3 separate regions of the Homo sapiens genome follow, and regions 2 and 3 are each linked to region 1. The links are contacts of gene promoters, found by promoter capture Hi-C in blood cells and fetal thymus (Javierre and others, 2016). All regions are on one chromosome and are shown on one strand. Each heading gives the region's core, a stretch centred on a gene start or on the middle of the fragment in contact. The rest is flanking DNA. Distances are from core to core; before and after follow the strand shown. Region 1 holds the start of CHIC2 (cysteine rich hydrophobic domain 2). Region 2 overlaps USP46-DT (USP46 divergent transcript). Region 3 overlaps SCFD2 (sec1 family domain containing 2).

Evidence for each region. The method cuts DNA at HindIII sites, captures the fragments that hold promoters and counts their contacts. A CHiCAGO score of 5 or more calls a contact.
Region 2: a contact is called between a fragment that was not itself captured here and the fragment with the promoter of CHIC2 in region 1, in 1 of 17 cell types (naive CD8 T cells). The highest score is 5.3, in naive CD8 T cells.
Region 3: a fragment that was not itself captured here is called in contact with the fragment with the promoter of CHIC2 in region 1 in 1 of 17 cell types (fetal thymus); the score reaches 5.0 in fetal thymus.

What each region holds. Positions count from the first base shown.
Region 1 is chr4:54,062,997-54,066,360 of GRCh38, reverse strand. It overlaps CHIC2 (cysteine rich hydrophobic domain 2), which reads left to right and starts at 1,756. Exons shown (of 6, transcript NM_012110.4): 1 at 1,756-2,179. The coding sequence starts at 2,061. RefSeq lists silencers at 1,449-1,688, 1,919-2,048 and an enhancer at 1,848-2,348. The HindIII fragment of the contact is 3,181 bases long and covers 1-2,932 here.
Region 2 is chr4:52,659,894-52,663,257 of GRCh38, reverse strand. It overlaps USP46-DT (USP46 divergent transcript), which reads right to left. Exons shown (of 2, transcript NR_125363.1): 2 at 1,760-2,366. Among named protein-coding and RNA genes, the nearest start is that of USP46-DT, 2.2 kb to the right of the region's middle. The HindIII fragment of the contact is 830 bases long and covers 1,258-2,087 here.
Region 3 is chr4:53,002,653-53,006,016 of GRCh38, reverse strand. The region is part of intron 5 of SCFD2 (sec1 family domain containing 2); the gene reads left to right. Among named protein-coding and RNA genes, the nearest start is that of SCFD2-AS1, 77 kb to the right of the region's middle. RefSeq lists a silencer at 1,825-1,914. The HindIII fragment of the contact is 4,903 bases long and covers 1-3,364 here.

The DNA.
Region 1 (3,364 bases), core at 507-3,006:
TAGGGAGCCTTAAGCATCACCTATTACCCCGTATTTATTGTGTACTGGGCCTTCTTCTAGGCACTTCACCGATCTTAAGCCCTTGAATCTGCTGAGCATCCCAATGGGGCAGGTACTGAACAGGGAAGTTAAGTGGCTTGTCTAGGGTCACACAGTAAGTGGCAGAGCTGACATTCAAGGCCAGGTAGTCAGGTTCCAGAACACACATTGTTAAACACCAGACCAAGCTGCCTCCTGTGTGCCCCACTGACACTTCCTGTGTCCTCCTCCATGAGCCCCTGGCAGAGATGACAATTGCTTGCCTTAACAATAGATAAGCTACCAGAAGTCAGGGCCTGTGCCTCATTCACACACGTCCACAGTGCCTGCCACATAGCTAGAGTTCAGTAGATATTTGTTGAATGAACAAATACCCTCCAGGGAGGGATACAATAAGTCTGATACAACTACTGTATTTTTCCTTCATTTTTTCTTGGCTAACCACACTCATTTCCTTCAGTTGTTTCCAAAAGGAGGTTGGCATCTCTCACTGTCCTCATTGACCTCCTTTGCACTTTCTCCACGTCAACAGTGACCCATCTAAAGCCGACTACTGTGACATGAACACTGCACTTGAAGAGCCTGACCAGCGCTGGGCTCAGTAGAACTATCCTTTCTTCTCCCATGGTGTATCCTCACTGTCCAGGACTCTCTTCTCAGAAGCCCACTCCTTCCCCTGTGCTGTTTATATGCTTAATGAAACCAAGTACCCAAAGTGACCGTTCAACTGTTACTAGGCAGCTAAGTAGACTCCATTAAACCTTTTCCTTCCTTCCTCCCCTTCTTTCTTTCTCTCCCATTCTTCTTTCATTCTTCTCGTCCTTCCTTCTATCCTTTCTTCCTTCCTGCCTCCTTTTCTTCCTCTCCTCTGCCCTTTCTTTCAGGTCTTTTTTGTGGTAGGAACTGGTAAGAAAAGGAAAGGAATTCCCTAAGATTTTAAGGAAACAACAACAAAAACCAGGTTATGTTTGGTGAGAGAGTTGGGGCAAGAAACTGCATCTTCTAATATGGAATCCAGGTAATTTATCAGTTTTTTTTCATAGCATGACTACGGTGAGATTTCTTGTAAGAAAAAAAAAAAAATACCAGCATCGCTGGCCTCATATATTGGATTATACTTAAGGGGATCAAGGGATAAGATGTTTGAATTTGGAGATGTCTTGAAAAATCCTGTGGTGAGCACAAATGTTTGCAGTGTCTCTGCTGGACTCCTCAAATTGGGAAAAAAGAGACTCTGGTTCTCATCATAGACTCAAAACCTGAGGAAAAGCGAGATGCGATTATTAGATAAACTGGCAATGACACGCACAAAAATGTGTCTATTCCAGCCAGGGCTTTTCTTTTCAGTTGTTTGTTTTGGTTAGAGATGACTTTGGGGAACTGCATGTCCCACTGGACATTCCAAGCTGCGTTGTCGGAGTCGCGGGTCGCGGCCTCCAGTCAGCGGAGCCGCCGCCCCCAGGGTCCGCCACCCAGAAGTCGGCGGAGGGGGGCCCGCCGGCGGGAGCGCGCGCCCCGGTCGCCGTCTGCGGGTAGAAGCAGAGGAAAGACGGTGGCCTGGGAGCGCGCGAGGCCGCACGTGCGCGCGCCCGCCCGCCCGCCAGCCAGTCCGCTCGCCCACGCGCCCACGCACGCGCCCGCCCGCCCGTTGGCCCGGGAAGTCTCGCGATGCCGTAGCCGGCTGCTCCCGCTGCGGGTGGCTCGGGCTGTTGCTGTGGTTTCCTGAGTTGCTGCTGCTGCGGCGGCGGCAGCGGCGTCTGTGCTTGTGGAGGTGTCGGCCTCTGGGCGGATGTTGACATTGTGTTGTTGTTATTGCTGATGGTAATGGCGGCGGCGGTGGCGGCGACGGTCCAGACCCCATCCCCTCTGTAGCCGGAGCCGAGACAGCCGACAGCGAACTCCGCGGCCTCGGAGCCGGCGGCAGCGGCGACTCCCCTCAGCCTCCGCCGCCTCGCCCGCCGGTACCCCGGCGCCAACCCCGGGAGTCAGGCCCTTTGGGCAGGGGAGCTCGGAGGCTCAGGATGGCGGATTTCGACGAAATCTATGAGGAAGAGGAGGACGAGGAGCGGGCCCTGGAGGAGCAGCTGCTCAAGTACTCGCCGGACCCGGTGGTCGTCCGCGGCTCCGGTCACGTCACCGTGTAAGGCCCGGAGGAGGGCGAGGGCGGGAGGTGCGGGCTGGGGTGGGCCCCGTTACTCCACGGGAGCCCCGTTTCCCCTGTGTCCGTCTGGTGTCGGGGGCCTTCCGAAAGAGTAGGCAACCAGGAAGTGAGAACTTGGCTTATTTTCATTTGTTTGGGTCTCCGAAGTGGGGACGGACGCTGTCCTTCCTCCTCCACACACCCCTTTAGCAGGCCCTACAGGCCCGGGCGATGTGACGATCCCAGTAGGCACGGGTTTTCATTAGGGTCTGCCCTGCGGGCCACCCTTCCTCTTCAGGGTGGAAGTACGTGTATTGACAGGGAGCCTCCTTGTTTTCTCGCCCAGTTACCCTGTGGTTGTCTGTGCCTTTGCACCCAGTGACATGGCTCAGAGGCCAGATCTGGGCCGTGTGAGACCCCAGTGACAATTGGCAGCGAAGCTCCGTTTCGTGTCTATTTCACACATACCCACAGGTCTCCCAGTTTTTCCACTAATTTCCGCAGAACTAATGCAAGTTCTTGTAATTGTACGTGATAAAAATATATAGTTGAACACAAATTTAAGATATACAGAAAGAAATATGTTTACAACAACAACAACAACAACTACGTGAGGGACATACACTCTGCTCAGGTTACTGAGGGAAAATTGTAGTCCTGAAGCTCCTCCTTGGGGCACGAACTTGGGGCTTGTTAATTTGGAAAGTCCCACTAGTAACATTAAAAGTCTGATATTAATAAGGAATGAAAGCTTTCGGAAAGACCATGACAAAGGAATGTGAAGCCTTGAACCAAATAATGAGCTGTCCGGAAGCAGGAAGTTTTGTAATGTTTCACTATGAAGTCCACAGTTTTGTACCACTTGATGTATTACATTGATACTCTCTCATTTTAGATCTCTTGTTCAAATAATAGATCAGACTTCCATACTTGTCAGGTATCTCTGTACTTCTTCACCTTTTCAGTGAAACAAAAGAGCCAGCAAGTCTGAGAATGTCTGGAATAGTCTTCATTATATTTTGGTGAAGAGTGAGTGGGATGTGCTGTGAATAACTTAGGGAAACAGTAAGACTTCTCATATAAGTTTGTCAGCAAAATAATTGCATTTCTCGTATGACCAGCCATATTGTTGTTTGAGTATGCTTATGTAATGCTTTAATTTCTTTAGTACCTGTTAGTTTATGT
Region 2 (3,364 bases), core at 423-2,922, 1.4 Mb after region 1:
TGCCTGGACAAACAGACTTTTCCATATGTCCTCTGAAATCTAGGCAGAGGCTGCCAAGAATCCACGATTCTTGCACTTTGTGTGCCTGCAGGCTTAACACCACATGAAAGCTACCAAGGTTTACTGTTTGCATTCTCCAAAGTGGCAGTCCAAGCTGTATGTAGGCCCCTTTGAGCCATGGCAAGAGTGGGAACAGGAGCAGCTAGGATGTGGTGAGCAGTGTCCCAAGGCTGTGCAAGGTACCATGGCCCTGGGCCCAGTCCATGAATCTATTCTCTCCTCCTAAGCTTCTGGGCCTGTGATGGGAGAAGCCACTCTGAAGTTCTTTGAAATGCTTTCAAGGCTTTTTCCCTATTGTCTTGGATAGTAGCACTTGGCTCCCCTTTAATCCTGCAAACATCTCTAGCAAGTAATTGTTCCACAGTCTGCTTGAATTCCTCTACTGAAAAAGCTTTTTTCTTTCTCTGCCACATGGCCAGGCTGCAAATTTTCCAAACTTTTTTTGCTCTGCTTCCCTTTTAAATATAAGTTCTACCTTTTGTCTTTGCTCCCACATCTGAATATAAGTGGCTAGAAGCAGCCACACCACTTCTTGATCACTTTGCTGCTTAGACATTTCTTCTGCCAGATACCCTAAATCATCACTCTCAAGTTCAAACTTCCACAGATTCCTAGGGCATGAACAGAAGGCAGCTAAGCTCTTTGCTAAGGCGTTAACATTGTGTGACCTTTGCTCTAGTTCCCAGTAAGTTCCTAATTTCCATCTGAGGCCTCAGCAGCCTGGACTTCACTGTTCACATCACTATCAGCATTTTGGTTTGAAGTCCAGGCTTCTGAGGTCTCGAATGGAAATAAGGAAATTATTGGGAACTAGAGCAAAGGTCACGCATGTTTTGCCTTAGCAAAGTGCTTGGGTGCATTCTGTTCATGTCCTAGCTATCAGCATTTTGGTCACAACCATTTAACCAGTCCCTAAGAAATTCCAAACTTTCCCTCATCTTTCTGTCTTCTTCTGAGCCCTACAAACTCTTCCAACTTCTGCCTGTCACCAAGTTCCAAAGCTGCTTCCACATTTTCAGGTATCTCTACAGCAATGACTCACTTCTCAGTACCAGTTTTCTGTATTAGGTCATTCTTGCATTGCTATAAAGAAATCCCCAAGACCAGGTAATTTATAAAGCGAAGAGGTTCATGGTACTACAGGCTATACAGGAAGTATGGCACCAACATCTACTTCTGAGGAGTCCTAATGAAGCTTCTAATCATGGCTGAAGGCAAAGGGGGAACAAACATTCATATGGCAGAGTAGGAGCAAGAGAGAGTTGGCGGGGGCGGGGGGGGGGGGAGGTGCCACACCCTTTTAAATGACTAGATCTCGGGAGAACTCACTCATTATTGTTAAGACAGCACCAAGCCATGAGGGATCCTTCCTCATGTTGCAAACACCTTCCACCAGGCTCTGCCTTCTAGCTCTGCCTCCAGAATTGGGGATTCCAATTTAACATGAGATTTGGATGGGGACAGATATCCAAACTATATCAGCCGTGTAGTGCCACCCTCTAACCCATCCTTCCATTTTCTTGCTTTTCCCAGTCCTAACTATACCTGCATATCAGCTTACCTCAAAGTTCTCTCATTAGCTTGTCAATATTTTTAAGATTTTACCTCTTATCATCCCTGAATAATGTTTCCTCAATGAGTGAAGCTAAGATTATGATTATTCTTCTTCAACCCAAGAATTTTCCAATTTAGACCTGTGAATACCACACTTGTGGAAATGTAAAATGTATTTAATCTTTCATAAGTCTGACAAGCTCTGCCATGTTCAACTGATTTGTTGTGTATGTAATTCACTGCCTGAGTTTCAATCTGGATGTCTATATTGAACACTTCAGTTTTAGGATATATACCATTAAAAGGTATGCAAAAGATCCTTTTAACTTGCTGATATAGCACTCAGTAATCAGATGCTGTTCAATTTCCATTATGTCGATGGTGTTTTCAATCCTGTGAACTTTGCAATCCATGCGCCAATGTTGGCAGAAATACTGAACTCTTATTACAAAATTTTCATATCATTTAAAGCTTTAGATTATTGCCTTTATAGTGGAACTTCTGTGAAATTGAGTCCTGAGATCTGAGTTTTAGCCTTGAGGTTGCTCCTGACCTTGAGACATTAATACTCAAATCTTAAAGTTTTCTGGGCCTCCGTGCTGGGATTGGTCATAGTTCAGTTGTTTCCTGTCTTCTCTCTTCTCTTCCTCTCCCAGAGTGCTCAGCCCAGGTTACCACACCAACTTAATCTGTAACATTTCGGTAAGTCATCTGGGCAGGATCCTTGATCCTCTAAGCCTTATGTGACTGATCTGCAAAAAAGGAGATAATAGCATGTACCAGCTGATAGTTATGGTGGCGATTAAAGGAGATCAGGAATGTAAACATTGGGTGCAGTGGTTCACGCCTGTTGTCCCAGCGCTTTGGGAGGCCAAGGTGGGATGATTGCTGGAGCCCAGGAGTTTGGGATGACTCGGGGCTGCCCAGCCTCAGGCTGGGCAACATAGCGAGAACCTGTCTCTTAAAAAACAGAGAGAGAGAGAAGAAAATCAGTCATGACTTACAATGGAAGAAATTATCATCAGGATGTATTTGGAAATAATATTTAGGTTGAAAGACTTAAGCAGGAATATTATTTCTCATGTCCACTGGAAAACACAGTGACATGACTCCCAAAACCTTCAGTCAACAAGTCTGTCTTACTGTTTCCTCCCCAGATTCTAGGGATATTAGCAATCAACGGCTCTCAAATCTTTACTCTTGGTTAGATAAAAGCTATCTTCAACTAATTTTTCTTCTGATTCAATTTGTCATTAAATACACTGATCTAAGAATTTATCACGCATCTCACTTGTACAATTTCTCCTTTGAAAGCATCGAATTGCAACCTTGTATGTGTAACTGTTCCACACATTCAGAAACGGGCCCCTTCAATTCGCGTGGACCTATCTGCTAAGTGGTGCACAGACTCGCGCTCTGAGCCCGCAGCCACGACCTTTAATGCGGGAAATGTGCATGATCCCATACAGCGCCCATCTCAACAACTAGAGGCTGGGTGCACCCGAGAGGGGTATGCCTGCCTTGAAGATATGGAAAAGTTTTGTTTTCGTTCTTTCCACTCCTTGGACAGTCCCTAGTGCTTGCGCGGAACCGGGACGTCTCCTTTGGACCCGCTAATGTCACAAGCCGCCCGAGCGCGCCGCTGCTGGCCTCCGCCCAGACCCGGATTCCTCCCCCTTCCCGGCGCCCTTTCTCGGGCGCCCGGCCCGCAGCTGGCGAGGGCTCTCTGACCGCTCCGGTGTCCTCGCCC
Region 3 (3,364 bases), core at 561-3,060, 1.1 Mb after region 1:
GGGAGGGAGAGGTTTGGCCAGGAACACACACAGTGCTGGGTCCCCCTCCTTCCTCTTTTCTCCTGGAGTGTGGAGTGGAGTGCATAACACTCAGTAGGGCTTATTAAAGGGCAAGTTCTCCAGTTAGTACAATGAAGTATGTGGCAGAAAACCCTGTTGGTGAATGTCGGCTTTACTTTTGTGAATGCACACTCAAGGTAGAAGGTTTCAGTAGAATCTAGATGTTATTCTAAAGCACAACTATGAAGCATGCTTCAGTCAGGATAAGAGCATATAATCCTTTTTTTAAATGTAATACTCTTTGTGTCTCTCTGATTGAATGTTTTATTGTTCCATCTTATTATAGCTTGACCCTTCTTTAAGGGGCCAAAGGACTTCAGGAAATAGATGCAAATTTAAGAAAATGAATCATCTTTCCCAAAACAGGAGTCTGTTTTAATGGAATAATCAGCCTTACTTATCGATGAAGGAACATGAAGATCTTATAGTGCTTACAGCTGTCTCTTTAATTTAATGTATGAGGAGAGGGAAACCTCACAAACTTCTCCTTATGAAAAAGTGGAAGTGGTTGAGGGTGCAGAATTGGCCAGAACTTGGGGCTCTTGTTCTTTGCTGAGCAGGGTCAAATGCCTGACCTCCGGGAGGCAAGCCAGGGGCTTTCCTATCAGCAGAGATCAGCAGTGGTGGGTTACTGCTGTTTACTCTCCTTGCAACTTTATGGAAAAGTACAGAATTAGCAGCTCTCTCCAACATCTATTACCTTGGTCTCATGGACTTGGGGAGTGGAGTCATGACCAAAGTTAAGAGTAGAAATCCTGGCCGGGCACAGTGGCTCACACCTGTAATCCCAACACTTTGAGGGGGCCAAAGACGAGTGGATCACTTGAGGTCAGGAGTTCGAGACCAGCCTGGCTAACATAGTGAAACCCCGTCTCTACTAAAAATACAAAAATTATCCGGATGTGGTGGCACATGCCTGTAGTCCCAGCTACTGGGGAGGCTGAGGCAGGAGAATTACTAAACCCAGGAGGCAGAGGTGGAAGTGAGCCAAGATCACGCCACTGGTGTCACTTCAGCCTGAGCGACAGAGCGAGACTCTGTCTTAAAATAAAGAATAGAAATTTCTGTCTGTCCTGAGAGCAGTGAGGTTTCATGGGTGCTGGGGGAATGGATACTTTACCCCTAAAAATACCCCCAACCATAAGCAGTTTCCCTGACTGTCTTCCTTACTTCCAGTGGTGCACCATCTGTCTTCAGGGTGTCAGGGTGGGGATTCACCACAGGAAGTTTCTAGAATGCCTCCGACCGTATTTGCAAGTGTTGAACCCTCTCACCACCTAACCTCCATTGGCCCATCTGTCCCCAGCCACACTTGGCACATAATCAATGCTTTCAAATTCTAACTCTACCACTTACTACTTAGCTGTGTGACCTTGGGCAAGCTACTTAACATCTACGTGCCTTAGTTCCTTCCTCTGTCAAAAGGAATCATAATAGTACCTATCTTGTAGGGTCATTGTAGGAATTAAATGTAGTAAATGCCGGGCATGTGTAAGGGCTATCTGAATGTTAGCTATGGGACTTATTCTGATTACAATGGCAGTGGGTGTCTGGCCAGCCACCAGATCACCTTTATGCAAGATAATTACCTTTCTATTTCTCTGGTAAGCAGACATGGGTAATTGAAGTTGACCTACCATGTCCTCCGTGTGGCCCACATTTACGTTCCTTTCCATGCTCTCCAATCTTCTGGTTTTCCTGTAGCTGAGATACCCACTGGATTGGGCAGCTCTAGACTACAGCTATTCTGAATCAGGCCTCAGAGGTCTCCATCACTGACCACATATCGTGTGCATGTTCTTATTCAGTTTCCTTTTGTGGCTAAGGAATGGACACCTAAGTACTGCTTCTTTTTATAGAAGGCTCTGACTAGCATATTTGCTGATTAAAAGGAAGGCCTCACAGAGCATTCATTTTGAAGAGCATAGTAATACTTAAGAACCAGGACTATTTCAGACATTTATTGCAAACTGTTTATTTCCTAAAATAAGGAGGGCATGCTTTTTGTTTACATCCTCCTAATGAGAATTCCTCAGGGGTTTGAAAACTGTTATTGTGCCCTTTTCGTCTTCCCCTACATTTCAGCCTACCCATCCAAGAAGCATCTGACCAGTGCTATCATGAAGGTTGTGATTTAACTTTGAAAGGAATCCTTTTCTACTGTCCTCCTTAGAGTTGTAGCAAGCTGCCTTCATTGACCAAATGTACATCATAACTTATCATAGTTCAAATCCTATCACCTGTTTCTGTCTCCTCTGGGAGATATTCCTTGACCCCATCCCATTAAGTTCTTCTCCCTCTGTGCAATTTCTGTACAGGGACACAACTTTATTGTTGTCCTTATCACTCTACTCTAACATTTAATGACAGTTTAATACTGCTTTCTATGTGCCAGGCACAGTGGTAGATTCTAAAAATCTAACTGCAAATAAAACTTGAAGACAGTGGTATCTCGTAGAACATTCTGTGAGGATGGAAATGTCCTATATCTGCATTACCCAGTATGATAGCTGCTACCCATAGATGGCTATTGAGCACTTGAAATGTGGCTAGTGCAACAGAGGAACCAAATGTGTAATTTTATTACTTCATATGTACATGTAAATAGCTACATGTGGCTACTGATTACTGTATTGAACAGCACAGCTCTAAAACGTAAGTCTGATGAGGACAGAGATCCGTGTCTTTTGTTTATCACTCTACTCCCAGGGCCAAGAACAGTGCCTGCCATATGGCATGAATGAAAGAAAGAAAAGAAGGACGAAAGGAAGGGAGAGAGGGAAAAGAGAGAGATGGGTGATCTGGTTTGGATCTGTGTCCCCACCCAAACCTCATGTTGAATTGTAATCCCGTGTTGGTGGTGGGGCCCAATGGGAGGGGACTGGATCATGGGGGCAGAGTTCTTGTGAATGGGTTAGCACCATCCCCTCAGTGCTGTTCTGCTGATAGTGAGCGAGTGAATTGTCATGAGATCTGGTTATTTAAAAGTGTGTAGCACCTCCCACCTCTCTCTCTTCTTCCTACTCCCACCATGTAAGATATCTGCTCCCGTTTTGCCTTCCGCCATGAGTAAAAGCTCCCTGAGGTCTCCCTAGAAGCAGATTCCACCATGCTTCCTGTACAGCCTGTGGAACCATGAGCCAATTAAACCTCTTTTCCTTATAAATTGTCCAGGCTCAGATATTCCTTTATAGCAGTGTGAGAACAGACTGGTACAACAGGTCTCTGACCTTGTAGAGCTTAAATGTAGTAGAGACCCATTTGTTTATATATTTGCTTATAGATCTTTAAGTTCCAGAAGACA